Regions from separate parts of the Homo sapiens genome. Here regions 1, 2, 3 and 4 are each linked to region 5. Evidence: promoter capture Hi-C in 16 types of primary human blood cells and fetal thymus (Javierre and others, 2016). All regions are on one chromosome and are shown on one strand. Each heading gives the region's core, a stretch centred on a gene start or on the middle of the fragment in contact. The rest is flanking DNA. Distances are from core to core; before and after follow the strand shown. Region 1 overlaps MON2 (MON2 regulator of endosome-to-Golgi trafficking). Region 2 overlaps MON2 (MON2 regulator of endosome-to-Golgi trafficking). Region 3 overlaps USP15 (ubiquitin specific peptidase 15). Region 4 overlaps MON2 (MON2 regulator of endosome-to-Golgi trafficking). Region 5 holds the start of MON2-AS1 (MON2 antisense RNA 1).

What was found. The method cuts DNA at HindIII sites, captures the fragments that hold promoters and counts their contacts. A CHiCAGO score of 5 or more calls a contact.
Region 1: a contact is called between a fragment that was not itself captured here and the fragment with the promoter of MON2-AS1 in region 5, in 4 of 17 cell types (total B cells, naive B cells, naive CD8 T cells and 1 more). The highest score is 6.0, in total B cells.
Region 2: a contact is called between a fragment that was not itself captured here and the fragment with the promoter of MON2-AS1 in region 5, in 2 of 17 cell types (total B cells and naive B cells). The highest score is 5.3, in total B cells.
Region 3: a fragment that was not itself captured here is called in contact with the fragment with the promoter of MON2-AS1 in region 5 in 5 of 17 cell types (naive B cells, total CD8 T cells, total B cells and 2 more); the score reaches 6.2 in naive B cells.
Region 4: a contact is called between a fragment that was not itself captured here and the fragment with the promoter of MON2-AS1 in region 5, in 6 of 17 cell types (naive B cells, total B cells, total CD8 T cells and 3 more). The highest score is 8.0, in naive B cells.

The regions. Positions count from the first base shown.
Region 1 is chr12:62,554,643-62,558,491 of GRCh38, reverse strand. MON2 (MON2 regulator of endosome-to-Golgi trafficking) reads right to left here. Exons shown (of 35, transcript NM_015026.3): 25 at 2,300-2,498. Among named protein-coding and RNA genes, the nearest start is that of MIRLET7IHG, 46 kb to the left of the region's middle. The HindIII fragment of the contact is 4,688 bases long and covers 1-3,849 here.
Region 2 is chr12:62,597,181-62,601,031 of GRCh38, reverse strand. It overlaps MON2 (MON2 regulator of endosome-to-Golgi trafficking), which reads right to left. Exons shown (of 35, transcript NM_015026.3): 35 at 556-3,851. Among named protein-coding and RNA genes, the nearest start is that of MIRLET7IHG, 3.6 kb to the left of the region's middle. The HindIII fragment of the contact is 7,638 bases long and covers 1-3,851 here.
Region 3 is chr12:62,399,456-62,403,335 of GRCh38, reverse strand. It overlaps USP15 (ubiquitin specific peptidase 15), which reads right to left. Exons shown (of 22, transcript NM_001252078.2): 21 at 2,061-2,149. Among named protein-coding and RNA genes, the nearest start is that of MON2, 65 kb to the left of the region's middle. The HindIII fragment of the contact is 6,516 bases long and covers 1-3,880 here.
Region 4 is chr12:62,573,690-62,577,716 of GRCh38, reverse strand. The region is part of intron 30 of MON2 (MON2 regulator of endosome-to-Golgi trafficking); the gene reads right to left. Among named protein-coding and RNA genes, the nearest start is that of MIRLET7IHG, 27 kb to the left of the region's middle. The HindIII fragment of the contact is 567 bases long and covers 2,455-3,021 here.
Region 5 is chr12:62,483,235-62,487,482 of GRCh38, reverse strand. It overlaps MON2-AS1 (MON2 antisense RNA 1), which reads left to right and starts at 2,541. Exons shown (of 2, transcript NR_186172.1): 1 at 2,541-2,714. MON2 (MON2 regulator of endosome-to-Golgi trafficking) reads right to left here. Exons shown (of 35, transcript NM_015026.3): 2 at 3,250-3,313. The HindIII fragment of the contact is 7,471 bases long and covers 1-3,033 here.

The DNA of each region.
Region 1 (3,849 bases), core at 475-2,974, 72 kb before region 5:
TTTAGGGAGAAAAACTCCTGCAATTTCTCTATTAACATATTTTATGTCAGAGAAGGGGTCCCTTTAAAAGAGTAGATATAATTATATATTGCACGTGGTTATGTTAAAAATATAAAACTTATTCTAAAATAACAAATATCATTTCTTAAAGTTATAAAAAATTATCAAAGACATTAACTGTCTTATGTCTTCATTTAAAAAAAATCTAAATCTAGGCTGGGCGTGATGGCTCACGCCTGTAATCCCAGCACTTTGGGAGGCTGAGGCAGGCAGATCACCTGAAGTCAGGAGTTTGAGACTAGCCTGACCAACATGAAGAAATCCCGTTTCTACTAAAAATACAAAATTAGCCGGGCATGGTGGCGCATGCCTGTCTGTAATCCCTGCTACTCAGGAGGCTGAGGCAGGAGAATCGCTTGAACCTGGGAGGCAGAGGTTGGGGTGAGCCAAGATCGTGCCATTGCACTCCAGCCTGGGCAACAAGAACGAGACTCCATCTCAAAAAAAAAAAAAAAAAAAAAAAAAAAAATATATATATATATATATATATATATATATATATAAATCTATTCGTTCTCAGCTTTTAAGAGAAATATCATGAAGGTACTAAAAATGATGCTCATTTTGTCAAAACTTAGCAAATGTACAGTGAAAATTTGTGCATTTCACTGTACGTAAATTTTATATGAAAAAATCCCAATATTTAAAAATACATATACCAAGCCCTAACATGCTAAATGGATCAGACACCATAAATAGTTTTTGGAAAAAAGGAGAAAAAAGTGCACATAAAGAACAATATACAAAAATGCTTATGGAATGAGTAAATATGCTTGTGCTTTAACATAAATTAGTTTAAAAAATGCCAAACACGAAATAATAAAATAGATAATATGTACAACATGCTCATAACTATGTACAAAAGTATCTCTGTTCACCTTTTTCTACCACCACCAGCATTACCACCAGAATTGAAAGTAGTATAATCGGCAACCAGGTTTCTCAGTCTTAGTCCATTGACATTTCTGGTTGTATAATTCTTTGTTATAGGAGGCTGCATTGTAAGATGTGTAGCATCAACCCTTGCCTCTACCCTCCCCAGATAGCAGTAATGCTCAACCTTCCCCAGTTATGACAACTAAAAATGTCTCCAAAATTGCCAAATGTCTTATGGGAGTATAATAGGCCCTGTTTGAGAACCACTGATATACACAACCAACAGCTTCCTAACCAGTCCAACAACATCCTGTCATCCTTCCTTGTTGCCATTCCATTCTACATATACACTAAGACATGCACTTTGTGATCTTTTTGAAGTGCATATTTGATCATGTCAAATCATGAATTAAAATCTATCAGTAGTTTTTTTCATTGCTCTTAGGATGAAATCCTTTTTTTTTTTTCGAGACAGGGTCTCACTCTGTCACGCAGACTTGAGTGCAGTGGCACGATCTTGGCTAACTGCAGCAACCTCCACATCCCAGGCTCAAGCAAGCCTTGCAACTCAGCCTCCCAAGTAGCTGGGATTGCAGGTGTGCACCACCACATTTGGATGATTTTTTATTTTAAAAAAATTTTTGTAGAGATGAGATCTCATTATATTTCTCAGGCTGGTTTCAAACTCCTGGGCTCAAGCTATCCTGTTGCCTCAGCCTTCCGAAGTGTTGAGATTATAGGCATGAGCCACCATGCCCAGCCTCCTAACTTTCTCCTAACACATTCTACATGATCTGGATGATCTGGCCTTTCACTACCTCTCAATCTCTTTGATAATCAAACTCTTTCTTATTCTCCTCATTCTAGACCTTTAAACATGCTAGCATCCACCATCTCTTTTCCTCAATCTTCTCCTGTCTCTTTTACATTCTCTCATTGACTATAAGGCTCTCCACACTTCGTCTTACTCTTGCCTGATGAACTCCTACTTACCCTACAGATCTCAGGAAAACTATTGCTTTCTCAGGAAAGTCCATCTGGAATTCACTGGCCAGGTCAAATACTTACCGAAGCTCACAAAGTACCACTCCTTGTAACACATCATTGTAGAAATTTCGCCTTTATTTATGTAATTATGGGTACTTCCTCATGCCCATGATAGCAAGAATGACGTGTATTTTGCCTTTCATTGTATCCTCTAGAGGCTAGCCCACAGTAGGTACAAACGAATGAAAACACAGATGCTTACACACACACCACACATAAAGACTAAGTTAAGATAGACTCTAAAAGAATCGTCTGTATTTTCCAAATTTCTTTTAACATTAATTACTTGTATAATCAGAAAAAAATGTACGTATACCTAAAGGCTGCAGCAAATATCTTCTAGTGTTGAAGATCCTTGCTACTCCAGCCAATGTTAATACCCACGTCTCAGCCCATTGCTTCTCGGCGGTGTCCCTTGAATGATGAATGAGAATATTGCCACCTCCAGACTCAATCTTTTCTTTGTCTGCAGTGGTAGAGGACTCTCGAACTCTGTCCAGTAGATGAAAGAGTACCTAAATATTTATTAAAATGTCATTTAAAATGCATTGATAATATAGCTTAAGTAATAGCATAGGAGCAACAGCATAAGAATCTACAAATTGTTACAAAAAATATACTTGACAGTCTTATCAATCCCTATATATTGGAGGAAACTGACCAATAGAGTAATTATACATTCTTTTTTTTTTTTTTTTTTTAGATGGAGTCTCACTCTATCATCCAGGCTGGAGTGCAATGGCACAATCTCGCCTCACTGCAACCTCTGCCTCCCAGGTCCAAGTGATTCTCCTGCCTCAGACTCCTGAGTAGCTGGGATTACAGGTGTCCACCACCACACCAGCTAATTTTTGTATTTTTAGTAGAGATGGGGTTTCATCATGTTGGCCAGGCTGGTCTCGAACTTCTGACCTGAGGTGAACTGCCCGCCTCGACCTCCCAAAGTGTTGGGATTACAGGCGTGGGCCACTGTGCCTGGCCATAATTATACATTCTTAAGTTTATCATGGAATATAAAAAAATAAGGTTGGGCACAATGGCTCACATCTGTAATCCTGGCACTTTGGGAAGCCAAGGTGGGCAGATTGCTTGAGCCCAGGAGTTCAAGACCAGCCTGGGCAACATGGCGAAACCCAGTCCCTACCAAAAAAAAAACCCAAAATTAGCTAAATGTGGTGTTATACATCTGTAGTCCCAGCTACTTGGGAGGCTGAGGTGGGAGGATCACCTGAGCCCCCAGGAGAGGTTGAGGCTGCAGTGAGCTGTGATCATGCCACTGCATGCCATCCTGGGCAACAGAGTGAGATCCTGTCTCAAAAAAAAAATTAAATTAAATTAAATGGATAAAATATAAGACTTGTTGAGGCATCAATGGAGAATTTATGGGTTAATGTATAAGAAAAGAACAAAGCTGGCCAGGCGCAGTGGCTCATGCCTGTAATCCCAGCACTTTGGGAGGCCGAGGCGGGCGGATCACGAGGTCAGGAGATCGAGACCATCCTGGCTAACACAGTGAAACCCTGTCTCTACTAAAAATACAAAAAAAATTAGCCGGGTGTGGTGGCGGGCGCGTGTAGTCCCAGCTACTCGGGAGGCTGAGGCAGGAGAATGGTGTGAATCTGGAAGGCGGAGCTTGCAGTGAGCAGAGATCACGACAAAACAAAAACACACACACACAAAGGTAAGGAGAGGGGTCCAGGACAAAAGTAGAATTACTGGAGATGGCTCACACCTGTAATCCCAGTGCTTTGGAAGGCCATAAAGTGGGGATGATTGCTTGAAGCCTAGAGTTTGAGAACAGCCGGGGCAATATGGTGAGACTATCTCTACAAAAAAAATTTTAAAAATTAGCTGGGCTTGGTAGTG
Region 2 (3,851 bases), core at 1,228-3,727, 110 kb before region 5:
CTTAGCTTTCCATACTGTATATATCCTATCCTGCTTATGATTGCAAGTTTATCTTCCTTGGTTTTATAATTTATTCTTAAATCACTCCAGACCCTGCCATCTCAAATCTAAACTACTCTCCTTGGCTTTCAAGGAATTTTATGAAGGGACCCAATCCTTCACAACCAACCTTGTTTCACACAATACACCAAAATGCACTGTTTTCTATTTCACAGATATGCCTTGCTCACATTATCTTGCCTGAAATCCCTCCGTATATCCTTTGAACTCATCCAAAATCTAGGTAGCCATCAAGACTAACTTTAATTTCTATCTTAACCACTGAGCTTTTTCATTTCTTTAAAAAACTTCCTTCTGACTACTAACAGCACTATTAACCTGAACCACAGAAGACTAGGCTAAGGTTCCTATTTTATGATTTCATTTTAATCTGTACTTGTCTTTTACTGTACTTTACATACTTGTTAAAAGGTCTGTATTCCCTATAAAACTGAAAACTCCATGAGGACAGAGACTAACCCAATGCTTAACGCAAAAACAGGGTCTAAACAGTTGTTAGTGATACACCAGTATTTAATTGTATAGTCTTGTATCCAGTATTATTTTATATATGCGGTTTCCTTGACTAGCTGTAATAAGCACTTGAGAGCGCTCCAAATAGCTTCTGTCATACAGCAAGGACACAGTTATTAGCACACAGTAGATTCTTAACATTCAGTGGTTGTCTGGTGAAAGGCAAAAAATTGGTCCCTATTGTGGGAAGACATGGATTTTCTGGCCATTCTTGAATGATGTGTGCCAAATGTGTTTTACTTCCCTAACCACCTAGTGGTGATGATGCTCCAGGCACAGCGCTTTAGAACACACTACATTTTGAATTCTGTTAAATACCACGATTAACTCCATTTCACAGAGGAGGACACCAAAACAGGTTAATTAACTTGCCCAAGGTCACACATTTAGTAAAATAACAGAGTTGGGATTTGCATCTAAGAAGCCTGGCCCCAGACTCTGGGCTCTTAACCACAATGCTGTTATTTATAACATAACTTCTTAAAACACACAACATATGTTTTAAATAGATAAAATGTTTTAAACCTGGACCAATAATAAAAACCCAATGCAACTTTCAAGGTCATCGTTAAGACAAATCTTTTTTTCACAGTATTTTTAGTTCTTTGTTATGTTCAAGTATATTTGTCCCAGTGCCCATCATAGAAATAGTAATTGCCTCAAGAGTATTTTTAGTTTATTTTATAAGTCTTGGATTTTAATGGACTGTAAAACATGAAACTATTGTACTGTAGTAGAAAGAACTGCTTTTGAAAAAGCAAGACATAGTGATCCACCTGGACTTTAGGTATGTGACTCTAGGCAGCTCACTTCAACCCCCTAATCCTTGACTCTTCTGTAAAATGAAAATAACTTCTTTGCAAGGCTACTTTGAGGATTAAAGGGAATAATATAGGCAAAGCCTTGGCCTGCACATACTAGGTACTCCAGAAATGGTGGTTAAAATTACGCATCAGAAAAATTATTTTAACTATATCTGACTGCAGTACACACTGAGTAACGTACAAATTCTTGTTTTATACTTTCATTACATAACAAAAAAAGGAATTTTAATGCAAATTATTTTCTTTGAGAGGTAGAGAGATAGTCTGGCATTGATATGGACAGGCAGTTTCAAAACAGCTTCACCAAATTAAAAAAAAATGCTCATAAGATTAAGATAATCTAATCTACATCAGGATTTTTACTTGACCTAGCATTTTTACTTAAAGTTCCAAATCTTTCTTTCTAAACTATTGAGAGACACTTCGTGTCTTCTGTTTATTATTTTTTCATTTTATATATTAATGGTTTTAATAAAGCTCTCAAGAACATTTCCCCTTTACTCTATAATTTTTTTTTTCCCAAAGTGATCATCCTAAACATGTGACTCACTACTCGTAAAGTCTTTAAACAGAGTAAGTGATGTGGGGTGTCAATAATGTTTCAGACTTAACGGGGATGAGAAAGCAAACACAAAGTATATTCAAGAAAAAAATGAATCACTGGTCAGATCCAAAGGTAAATTATCAAAGTGGTTATGATTTTAAGTTATAAAGAAACACTAGTGTTGCTGGAACATAATTAAAAACCTGGAATCATGCTTAATGTTAGCTGTAAAACAAATAAACAATCTGTACAATCACAGTTATAACTATATAGCTTTCATGAAAAATCTATCCTAGACTACAAAGAAAATTTGGGTTTGAGGCCAATACAATTTCATGATTATAATACATAACTGATACATCTCAACAACATAAAAATTGTAAGGAGAAAGAGTAACAACAGTGGTATTACTTTCAAGAATTGTGTTGGGAACTAAAAAATAATTTCACAAAATTAGATAAATATATCCAGTCTGACATAAACACCATATGGTAGCTGCCTTAAGAGACAGGAGTTGTATGTTACGTGTTAAATTATGACACAGAGGTAGTAGTAAGAGATGGAAAGCAAATGAAATTTGCACAGTTGGGTCTGAAGCCTAATATTTTCTTTTTCTAGATAAAAATAAAATTGCAATATAGGTATGGAGTATTTTTCTCCATCTAGTAAACATCATAGAAGGAAGCAGTTGTTAATATATTGCAATGATTTTCCAAATAACGGCATGGTTTAGCAGATCTTCCCTGGCTGCACTGTTTATTGAATTTTAGTTTAAAATAAAACTTAGTGTAACTACATTCGCAGCAACTGAAAATGGTCTGAAAATTTAATTTTTTCATACTTGAGGGGATAGAATCAATACCATAGTACAATTAGGAAGGTTTCAATTGACCTCTGGGTGACCTCTGGGTGAACCAATCACACAGACACCAAATACACTCCAGAAAGACTCAGATATGAGAACTATAAGATTCCGGGTCTTCCATCAAAGACTGCTTTGCAACAGAAAAATGAAAATAGTTGAAATACATGGGCAATATGCTGCCTCAAATTATTCTTGTAAGTAGGCAGTGTCAATATAAATCAATATTAAGATGGGATAAATCTAAAAGTTTAAACGTCTGCCTCAAAAAAACAAATATCTCCCCCACCCCCCAAAATCATAAAAAACCAAAACCCTAATTAAAAATATTTTTTTGAACTAGAGATAGGATCTTGCTATGTTGTCTAGGCTAGTCTCAAACTCCTGGCCTCAAGTGATACTCCCACCTTGGCTTCCCAAAGTGCTGGGATTACAGGTGTGGGCCACCACGCCAGCCAAAACCCTCATTTAAACAGGTTTTAAATACTTTACTTTGAGAAAAGATATATAATCTCTCTACCCACATAACAGAAAAGACATGATTATTCCAAATTTAGGTGCTGAATCCATCATATTTATAGCAATCCCATTTTGTGAGCATCTTGGCTGCTGAATCCCGTGTATTCATAAAGACAGTAGGAGTTATAGTCACAATTTTTTTTTATTTTTAGTTTTTTATGGCACTTCCAGTTTTTGGAACATATTACTTTAACTTGTTCAGCTATTTCAAAATGGCAGGGGAACTTTACCTTGGCAAAAACGCAACAGTGGCCAAAGTGCAAAGTATTTCTACTTTCCACTTTGTAGTGGTAGAACCATGAGCAGTGGTTCTACCACTAACAGCTCCACTTCTTATGAACAAGGAATAGGCACAATTAGAGAAAGAGCTGAAAGAGAAGAGGCAGAGAATGAAAGAGGAATTAAAAGAGAAAAATCAGGGGAAAGTATAAGAAAGATGGTAACGTAAACATAAAATTTAACAAGGATAAAAACATAAAAGAGAGAAGGGGAGGGAAGAAAGTGATGTCCAAGAAAAAGGAAGAAAAAT
Region 3 (3,880 bases), core at 48-2,547, 83 kb after region 5:
GCTCTTCTGTGGACTTATTAAATCCTGACCTTTAAACATACTATGTTCTGTCCTCAGCCCACCATTGTCTCAACCTGAATCCTCTCACTAGGTGACTCATTTAAACCTATGGCTTCAACTGCTGCCTGAGGCTGACAACTCAAATGTATAACCTAAATCAGTTCTCACCCCTGAACTCCTGTCTTATGAGTCCAACAACCTAATGGAAATTTCCACACAGCTATCATACAGGCATCTCAAACTTCAACAGCAACTATTCTTCCTATATTCCCAATCTTGGTGAATGGTGAAGTAAAAGTCATCTTAAACTTCTCCTTCTCTGGATCTCTACATCTATTATCCTTATTATATCTTTTATCAAGTTATATTAATTCTGTCCAGTAAATATCTCATAAATCCATTCTCCCCTTGTTTGTATTGTTCTAACTACTATTTTAATTGCTTAAATTATGTGACAGCCTCCTGTATGGCTTTTCTGTTTCTTTACTCAGTGTCTCCAATCTATCTTCTATGATGTTCTCAGAGAAATGTTAAGATACAAACTGAACAATGTTATTCTCTTGTTTAACAATCTAATGGCTACTCATAGTCTGTAAGAAAATGTCTAAACAACTAGAATGCCACTTTTCTTGATCTAAGCGCTAAATTTATCTCCAGACTAATTTCTTCCCCATGTCCCTTTAAGAGCTTTTCCTTTGAGTCACATCCAATTATGTGCTGTTCCCTTAAAATGTCACGCTTTGTCATGCCTCCTTGTTTTTGTAGATACCGTTTTCTTTGCTTAGAACACCTTTTGTTTAATTTACTCTTATTTTTACTAGACTCAGGTCAGACATCATCTTTACCACATGAACTTCCCTGTGCTGGTTATTGTCCCCTCAAACCCCAAATCTGAGTTGAGACAGAAGTTCCCTTTCTAAGTGGCCATAGTAAGGTATTTAATAGTACTTATCATGCTGTAATTGTTAATTTACTTATCTTCTTTGGTTTATAAATCAGAGATAGCTATCTTTTAAACTCTGGACTGAGTGACAGCTATCTTTTTAACTCTGTTTAGAATGGAGTCTTTTGTGTATCTCTCTCTCTCTATATATATCATATTCAATTTGTTGACTAAATGAAGAATCATCATTGTTAAAATGCATGGCAACCTCAAATTTGTATACTATATATAAACAAGATAACTGTTTATTTGAAGCCAAGATTAGGGCAGTGTTGTTAAAAAGACTGATGGAGGAGGTGGGCAATTTGAGGAGAACAGAATTGATTTTCTTTTGCAGAAAAAAAATTAGGAGTTTAAATATAAACAAAAAATGTGGTTAATTAAAACTAACACAATTTTAAAAATTTATAGTATTCAAGTCTCTTTTTGTCATAGATATAGGGAGAGAAATAACAGTATATATATATATATATGTATATATACATATATATGTATGCATCTGTGTGTATATATACATATACACACACACACACAAACCCATACTGAGAGTCAGCGGTGGATGATAAACTGATGTAAGTGTGAACAGACGGAACTTCCTCATTTTTTTTACTATTCAGAAAATATCAAAGTAGTAAGTACACAAGTATTAATCTTTTATAAATCTGTAATTTGTTTTATCTAATTATGTCATTTTGAGTTTAGTTAATTTTCATAAGGCAGGATATGACTTTAAAGATCACAGGTACGGTAAGGTACTTCAAGGATTTTTTTTCTCTTGTTTAAACATTCTGGCTTTAAGTACTCAATGTCTAGAAAGTTAAGAGCTGAATCTACTTTCCAAAGCAAAACTTAATTATTTTTATTAGAAACTCCATGTTGAAAACTACCAAAAATTTTTTCACCTTGCAATTTATGCTTTTGTTAGTGGGCAAATTTAGAAGACAAATTTCCATTTAGGGGACAATTTGACATTTCTTTAAATAAGAGTTAGTGTCTTTTAGCTACTCAAGCTGCTAGAATATAGACTACAGTGTTCCATGAGCCCCTTTTATTAATTTATATTCACTCCTTAAGACAGTGAATCCCATAGTTCTCAGGAAATATAAGACAAACTTACCACAATTTGGTCTTCAGATGCAGTGGAGACACTACTGTCATCAAAATAGTACCATTTTCCATCATCTTTATTTTTTGCAAAAGCAGTATCTAATGAAAAAAATATAATCACTGTGACGAAAATGATCTTGGTTTTCTGGGGACTCCTCAAAACTCTATAATCATCTATATAAGGAATATCTATTAACACTGATAATCATCTATGAGGCTTATTTATTACATATTCAATTGATTCAAATGATTTCTAATTTCTACAATTAGATGCCAAAAATAATTTTCATGTAAGTTGAAACATTCTTTTTTCATCTCAGGAAAAAACAGATTATTTTTAAATTCACATAATAACACTAATGATAATAAATGGTAATTAACATTCATGTAGTGCTTACTGTGTACCAGGCATAGTGTTATGCACTTTACATGTATTGTCTCATAAAGAAGGTATTATCATTATTATTCTCCCCACCTGAGAGATGGGAAATTAAGGCATCAAAAGAAGGATAATTTACTCAAGGTACTATACTGTTAGCTAGCAGTTAGGATTTAAACCTAGATCTGTTTCTGACTTCATAGTTTGAAATTTCAACTTATTATTAAATTTTCTATGACGATTTCTTTTCTGATACCTCTACTCATTATGCTATAGTGTTTTTTTTTTTTTTTAACACCAGAATCTCTTTTAGTCTTTAACAAAAGTGTAGTCGGTCCTGTGCATACATGGGTTCTGCGTCCCTGAACCCAACCAACCACAGATCAAACATATTTGAGGAAAAAAAAAAATTCCACAAAGTCCTGAAGAGTAAAACTTGAATTTGCCACGTGCTGAGTACTATGTTCAATTTATGTGAATGAAGTGACGTGCAGGCATTGTATTAGGTATTATAAATAATCTACACATACAAGTATATGAGAGGATGTGGTTAGGTTATATGCAAATACTACAATATTTTACATAAGGAATTTGAACATCTGTGGTATCCACTGATACAAAGGGATGACTGTACACAGCAAGAAAAAGGCAAAAAGTGATTCATTAATCCACATAATTTTTAAAGATCTGCTTTATCTTTAAGTTAAAAAAATGCCCCTTTCCCCATCCCATGCCTTGTATAAACTACTCAATAACTGAAGAAATAAAGTTGCACAATGTTTCCAAAATAATTATATGTGGTCATTGTTTCTAAAAAGTGACACTTTGTAGGGTACGGCTTCTAAATAATTCTTCCCATCCTAAAGTAATTATTCTTCCCATTTGTATATAAATAAGAAATTGAGGTATTATCCTTAATAAGGCTGAAATCAAAGGGCAATATTCTCTTTCTATTAAGTTACCTGTTTGGATGATGTTCAGAGGGAATGGCAATACTTTGAAAGTAAGGTAAGCATTATCTTTGGTGAAACTCCACTGGCGGTCAGAAGATAATTCAAAAGACAAGCCAATCAACCGACCAGCCAACCAACCAACCAATCACAATAAAATAATGGTTTAAACTCTAAGTTGTTTGGTTAACAATTTTACTGAGTAACTACCATGTGGAAGAAATGTTTCATATTCTATCTGTTGTTGGTTCCCTCTCCTCAAATATCAACCATGGAGAGAAACCGTAGAAAGAGATGGAAGTTAGAGTCAAAGGAACTAACAAAAAAAAATTGAGAACCCTGTTCTCAATATATGAACTCAAGAATATTTGTGTGCATGCAACATGGCTGAAGAATGCGACAGAATGGATGGAGGCAGAAATGAGAAAACAATCTAGAAGAAAGCGTTTAAATTTCTTGCTTCAATTTTTGTCACAGAAATCAGCAATACTCAGGCTACCT
Region 4 (4,027 bases), core at 1,489-3,988, 90 kb before region 5:
ATTAATCTCCCATAGCAATTCCATGTAGTAATTATTATATAATCAAGAGAAGAGGGAACTGAAACTTAGAATGCCTACTAATATGCCCAAGAACACACTTTAAGTAAATGATGAGGCCACAATCTCAACCTAGATTTATCTGATATTTGAGCCTACATTATTCTTTTTTATGTTGTAGATGTAAAAATAGTATTAGAACATTTAGGTTTAATATACACTTCTGTATATTAAGTATAATGTACAATTTTGTATATAGGAATATATGGGCATCAGACTGTGGTTTCTTTGATTTGGACATTTTTCATTCAACAAATATCTACTGAGTACCAACTACTTTGCATCAGGTATTATATTCTTGGGTGTTCAAGATCTAGCTGTGAACAGGACAGACTCAGTCCATTTCTCATAGAACTTAGATTCTGGTGTCCAAGTCCTAAGCTAACTATAAATTGGTAGTAGGAACTAGAGTAAAAAAACTGAAAGAAATTTACCCAAACCTGAACCAATCAGAGGAATTTCACAATCACTGCCATCAAAGCAGCTTCACAGACTATATCTGCATCTCTAGAGACAAAAGTTGTGTTTAATTTTAATTTATAACCAAGGAAGGTAAGGGTTTAGTAATATTAAAAGATTTGTGATGATGGTGGAGGTAACTAAGGATGAGTTGATGATCAACAAAAAATGAAGAGGCAAAAATAATAAAATAATATTAATATTATTAGTGTGTATATTTCTATATTATTAGTGTTTATAGAAATATACACACTAACAATATTAATACTTTTAGTGTGTATACTGTGTGCTAAGGTGTATTAGTGTGTTTATTTCAACACATTAATAATATTAATATTATTTGGATCATATATCAGAAACACTGAACTAGATTTTTAAAATATCATATGATGAGGGAAGAGAGTAGCATACAAAACTAAAAACTGGATAACTAATAGTTATTTAATTTATAACTAGCAAACATATCAAAAACATCGATTGAGCTTTTAAAAATGCTGATTAACAGAATTTACCTATAAATTATAAGGGGCAATGGTCAATACTGCAGGTTACAAATAAGCCATGTAAGATCTTAAATTCCTTAAATTTGAAAACTACAGTAATCTTTAAAAATTTATTTTCATGAATCTTTATTTAAAATAAAAAAGAGCCTTCAAACTTATAAAGTGTTATTTGTATTTTGTCAGTTCTCTCTGTATGACATATTAAAATTTTTGTTGCAATATAATCTATATATTATAAAATTCACCCTTTTAAAATATACAATTTAGTGTTCCTTAGTATATTCATAAAGTTGTACAACCATCACCATTTCTAATTCCAGAACATTTTGATCACCCCCCCAAAAAGATCTGTACCCATTAGCAGTCACTCTCCCTCATCTCCCTTCCCCTCAACTCCTGGGAACCATAAATCTACTTTGTCTCTATGGATTTGTTACTCTGGATATATCCCATAAACAAGATCATACAATATATAGCCTTTTGTGTCTAGTTTCTTCCGCTTAGCATTATGTTGTAAATGTTCATCCATGTTTGAGCATGCATTAGCACTTCATTCTTTTTTATGGCTGAATAATGTTCCACTGTATGAATACATTACATTCAATTTGTCTTTTTTGCTACTATATTACATTCAATATATTGAATATTGAATATATTACATTCAATTTCACTTTTTTGCTACTATGAATAACACTGCTATGAACATTAGTGTACAAGTTTTTGTGTAAACATGTGTTTTCAATTCTTTTGCACAGTACTTTGTGATTTTTAATGTAAGGTCCACAGATTGTGTAACTTCCCACTCACCCATTGTGTCTCCTTTATAACTACCATGTTTTGGTACTCAAAGTTGGCTAAATGAATTTCTAATAGACTTCAAGTGTCTACCAAATTGCAGTCCTTGTGTTTTTCAACTTTGTCTTTTTCTTTCTCTTAAACTGTTTACTTATAGCCCTCAACGACATGCAAAGGCTTTCTTTTCTGCTAGTTCATTTTATTTGTATTTTCTGTGTTATTGTATTCCCTTGCCAAAGCATCTTGCAGATCAAAAAGTTTGGGGAATATTACAGACAGAGATATGTTTATTCTTAAAGTCTTAGAGTATGTATTAATTAGGTTAAAGGATTTATAAAGGTACCAATATAAAAAATAATCAAGTATTAGTCTTATTTAAATTCATTAAGTCTTGCTATTCCAAGCAACTTTCCAAAACAATCTTCCTACTGTTCAAACACTACTGATAAACTTCAGCTATAGAACATAGTACATATGTGGCATTAAGTAAGGTTTAAAATCTAAAAGTTTATGACCTCCAAAGTTATCAATTATTTAGAAAATAAAAACAAAGAGAAAACCTGTTATGAAACTGAAAATGTGCATGGTTTTTAAGTTCTCTTAACACTGCACTTTTAGTATCAACTGACCAATAAAAGCTTTCAATTTGAGCCTTAAAGTATTTTTGAACTATGAAACAAAAACTAAACTGGCTTTATCCAGTATAAGCTGTCCATGATTAAACATTCATGGACCTTTACAATTACTCCAACAAATAACTTTTCATCTTTCTTTGTTGAGACAGGGTCTCACTCTGTTGCCCAGGCTGGAGTGCAGTGGCACAGTCACAGCTCACTGCAATCTCAACCTCCTGGGCTCAAGTGATCATCCCACCTCAGCATCCCAAGTAGCTGGGACTACAGGCACATGCCACCATATCTGGCTAATTTTTAAATTTTTTTTGTAGAGGCGGAGTCTCACTATGTTGCCCAGGCTGGTCTTGAACTCCTGGGCCCAAGCAATCCACCCAACTTGGCCTCACAAAATGCTGGGATTACGTACTCCGGTTGGCCTTCTTTTTGTCTTTCAAATAAAGAAAATAATGCCTAGTGATGGGAAAGGACCAGCTCACGATCAACAGAAAGTAGACAGCAAGTCAGGACCAGGTCACAGGTCTCCTGACTCTCAATCTAGGGTGTTCATCAACTACTCCATGGAGTAGAAAGCTTAAATCTGTAACTAGAATAACCATAACTTAGAATACTGATACTGTGTTACTTGAGAGCTGAATTTAGAAGCTTTATTATTTTTAGCCATTAAAAATAACTCCAAGCCTGGGCAACATGGCAAAATCCCATCTCTACAAAAAAAATACAAAAATTAGCTGGGTGTGGTGGTGCATGCCTATAGTCCGAGCTACAAGAGAGGCTGAGGTGGGAGAATCACCTGAGGCCAGGAGGTCAAGGCCGCAGTGAGCCATGAACATGCGACTTCACTCCAGCCTGGGTGACAGAGCGAGACACTGTCTCAAGAAAAACAAAAACAAACAAAAACCTCCAAATTTAGAGCTAAATTTCCAAGTCTCAGTCATTTAGAGTTTTGGCCTTTAGAATTTTGGTTTAAAATAATAGTTGTTTCATGGGAATTAATATGGATAATGTCACCTTTTTTAAAAGAAAGAAAAAACATTAATGACAATAATAGTGGAAACAAGCATTTTAAAGTACTTACATGCCAGGTGCTATTCTAAGCATTCATTCATTTTAAGTGATTTAATCCTCACAATAACCCTGTAAGTTAGGGAGCATTATTATTGACATTTAACAGATGAGGAAAAATGAGTCACTGAAAGGTTTAATAACTTGTCTAAAAAGTAGTACAAAGTAGTACTACTGGGATTTGAATCCAGGTAGTCTGGTTGCCAAGCCAATGCTCTTATCCACTATGCTGGCTGCTTCTTAAGTAATGTATTTTCCAACACACCAAACATACTCAAACCTTTAAGGTAAGTAGAGCCATAATCAGGCAAAATATTTTAAATGAAATTATACTACAACTGCATTGATACAAAATTATGTAAAATACTATTATTTGGCCTTTGGTTCCAGTGTCCACTTTTCTATATTAAAAAACTTCAGAAAACGGGATTTAATAAAATAAGAATAAAGTCCAGAAAGTGAAGAATATTTAATAAGAAATTCAAGAATAAGGAAGATGGCAGAAAAACTCTCAAG
Region 5 (4,248 bases), core at 1,292-3,791:
CTGACAGCAGCTGAAAGCAGCCACAGGTAGATGTAACCACTACGGTTTGGGGTAGGGGCTAAATATACAATGTTAAAAGATACCACAACTTCATTGATTTCCTTGTTACAAAAATTTATGCAAAAAGCAGATTATGTAATTCTTGTATAACAAAGAATTTCTGAATTTTTAGTATACTATAAGCTAGGATAATAAACACAATTTGTAATATATAATATTCATATAATAAATGTAAGATTAAGGTATTTGGCCTTGTAAATGAAAACTTTATGTTGCTATCTCTCATTTTCAAAGTTTTATTTTTAAAGAAAATGGAAATTTTGAAATAATGATCTGTACATCTGAATCAATGCTGACATTACCTGGCATAGCATTCCCACTTATGTCAGCATTCATGACAGCAGTGAAAACAAAGAAAAATAAACATTAAAGGAGGATGCTTAAAAGAAGGGGAGATGTAAAGCAAAGACTTATTCTGAAATATAAATAATATTCCCTTGGAAAATAAATCTAAGAAAACTAAAGTTGACTAGAAATCTATGCCGAGTATCATTAATTAAACTACTTGATCCAAATTAAAAGTTATCATTCTTACAACAAATCTTTATATATTCTGAATATACAGAGACATATGAGATTTCAATATCCAATCTCATTTGAGACTCCTCAATTGTTTGGTATTTTTGACATACATTAGAGCACAAAAGTAGTATAGTCTCCTATAGTCTCAAGTACCATAAAGAAGTAAATACTTCTCATGAAATTTTAAAAAGTTAACTAAAAATTTTTCTCAGTATTAACTGTACTCTTAATTATATAGTTTAGAAACTATATACTGACTAATTTAAACTCTGTTTTGAAGAGCCTCTGATTTTCAAGATGATAGTGGTCTATAAATCTACAACTTTTAGGTATAATTGCTTTAAATACTTCAGAAAAAATACTAGGATAAAGTTTAAGTGCAAATATACCTCCTCAAGTATATGGGCTCTGGATACTACGAAGATTAAAACATGACTATTAATTGTATTTGCACCAGATCTGTTCTAACTTGATTTGAATAATGCAAATTGAATTAAAATGAAATTAACAGCCTGCCTATATATTTAAATCATACCGACTAAGTCAAAATTTTTCTTACTCATCTTAAGAGTAATTTATTAGACATTTTACTTGGGATAGAATGCTGGAATAACAGTGATCCTCTGAGGAAATCAGTCTTTTTTTAAAAAAAGTCTTCCACAAACTATAAAACCAATAAAAATTTGTATTATTGGAGAATAATTAAGGACTTACCACGGTATCAACAATGATATTAGCAACAGTAAATATTTTAAATATTTACAGTGATATTCTAATACGATTGGCCTATGGTAAGTCTCCAACATAAAAATATCCAGGTCATCATTTTTCTTTAAACACCAATTTCCCCACAGTAGCTAATCTGCCTAATGTACATCTCCCATTAAAACCCACATGCTGGCCGGGCGCAGTGGCTCACGCCTGTAATCCCAACACTTGGAGAGGCCGAGGCGGGAGAACCCCGAGGTCAGGAGTTCGAGACCAGCCTAGCCAACATGATGAAACCCTGTCTCTACTAAAAATACAAAAATTAGCCAGATGTGGTGTTGGGCACCTGAAATCTCAGCTACTCGGGTGGCTGAGGCAGGAGAATCGCTTGAACCCAGGAGGCAGAGGTTGCAGTAAGCCGAGACCACACCATTGCACTCCAGCTGGGATAACAAGAGCAAAAGTCCATCTCAGGAAAAACAAACAGACAAACAAAAAAAACCCACTTGCCAGCCTTCCTAACCCTACCATGTGCACCTCTGCCTTTACCCACCACTTTCACTATACCACTTCTCAATATGCACACAGAGCATTATTTACTTCTGTGCATAATGTTATAAAACTATTGGGTGTTTTGATAAGACTGTTCAAAATCAGGGAAAAAGCTGTGGGAAACAGATGTAATTGAGGAGCGCTTATGCTAAGGGCAAATTTCCAGCAAAGCTGGATAGCCTAAGTGAAATCCACTCTTGCCCCCGATCCTTAATCTGACCCCAAAAATCTTAATTTCATTTCATAACACTCTGAAATCCCACCAGTTACAGATTTACTGGTATCCCTTTTAAAAAATGTAAAGTATATGAAAGTTAAAGAGATTATTTACTATTTGGACTCTGTAAATTAATTTAATAGGACTACTTTCCTCATAGATTAGCTGAGATCAACAGCACTACTGGAACTGGAAATGCAGATTAAAGGATCACTGAAGCAAGCACTGGTTACATATGTAATACTTGGGAGTAAGTGGCTAACGTGGAAACCTGGTGATACCATGGTAGCACACTGTAGCAGGAAGAACATGGGCTCCTGAACACTCCTGGATTTTAATCTGGTTCTATCACCTTTCCTGTGACCTTGGGCAAGTAACTTAACCTCTTCACATCTCAATTAGCTCTACTATCAAATAAGATAATATTTCCCCACAAGGTTGTTATGTAAGATAGAATGACACAAGTGCCTTGCATATAACAGATTCTTAAAAAAAAAAAAAAAAAAAAGCCAGTTTACCTCTTTTCCATGTTCATTATTGAGGCAAGAACAAAAGGCACCAAGGAAGAGAAAGGAGTGGACTGGGTAGAAAAGAAGGATGCCAAAGAGAAACTCCTGAAAATTCCTCCTTGAAAATCAGGTTCAATCAAGAGAAGGTAAGAAAACATTTTTGTTTTCTTTTCTCTACTTCACTCTCATTCTTTTTTCATGATCATACTGCCTTAATCCCAAGACTCAAAATTCATACGGTACAACTAAATACAGAAGACTATGTTATGAACTGTTCGTATTATATTAAAGAGAAAGTAGATCACAGAAGGTGGACTGAGAACAAATCTTTCATTCAATACAATGGAACAAATATTACTGAATGCTTTTTATGGTGTGTCTCAGGTGATTAGCAGGAAGTGGAGGAGAATGCGAAGATGAGTAAGAAAAAATTCCTTGCCTTTAAGGAGTCAGTAGTGTTAAGCTTTCTGATTTCAGAGAATTTTTGTAGCATTCGTCTCTGGGAAATACAGTCAGTTCATAAGTTATGGACTTTTGCCCATTCTGTTTCATTATGAATAGCATATGTTAGGGCATGAGGAAGAGATGTTACAGAAAACTGATGGCTTTTACAATAAAGATTCTACTTTTACTATTAGTCAAATTTTTGTTTATTATTAAATTTTTAATACAAAAAATTACCTGCCAAAATTTCAGTGTTTCGTGCAGCAATTGTTTTAACTTTTATTATTCCTGATTCAGCAGCCTGCAAGAATAAAAATAATTAGAACACAAAATTTACTGCCAAAATGAATTATCTATGGAAAATAAGTCATATGTGATAGACAAAATATCAAGCACAAAGTCAGTCACTACCCTACCACCTTTTTAATTTTCAAACCATCAGATACTAAGCCCAGTAGTGACATATACGTTAAATGTAATAAAACATGATTAATTTGATTATTCACATGCAAACTCTGAATGCACTACAACATGTTGCCTTCCTCTGCCTTAAGGCATTATCTGGAATACCTCAATCCCCTGCAAAGTTAAATTTTCCGAGAATAAAAATAACAAACAAAAACAAAATCTACTGAAAATAATTAGGCTCCTTTTCCCCATTTCAAGCCTCCTCTCTCTCCACCACACACAAAAAAATTATAGAACACTGCAAAATCAAGTAAAACTACTGTGTTGGATTTATTTATTTATTGTTGATGGAGTTTTTTGCTCTTGTTGCCCAGGCTGGAGTCCAATGGCACGATCTTGGCTCACTACAACCTCCGCCTCCCTGGTTCAAGCCATTCTCCTGCCTCAGCCTCCCAAGTAGCTGGGATTACAGGCACCCACCACCATGCCTGGCTAATTTTTGTATTTTTAGTAGAGTGTTTTATTTTTGTACTTTTTGTATTTTTAGTTGGCCAGGCTGGTCTTGAACTCCTGACCTCAAGTGATCCACCCATCTCAGCCTCCCAAAGTGCCAGGATTACAGGCATGGGCCACCGTGCCCAGACCTGTGTTGGATTTTAAAAGCTACTTTGTTTTCTTTTTTGAGAATGGATAACCAAACACTTCATTAACCGTAGTATGTTTAGCGGGCAGTACTGGCAAGTCACATAGTATTTTACAGAATGCCACAGAACTGCACTGTCCAATTTGGTAGCCATTTGGCTACATGTGGCTATTAAGCACTTGAAA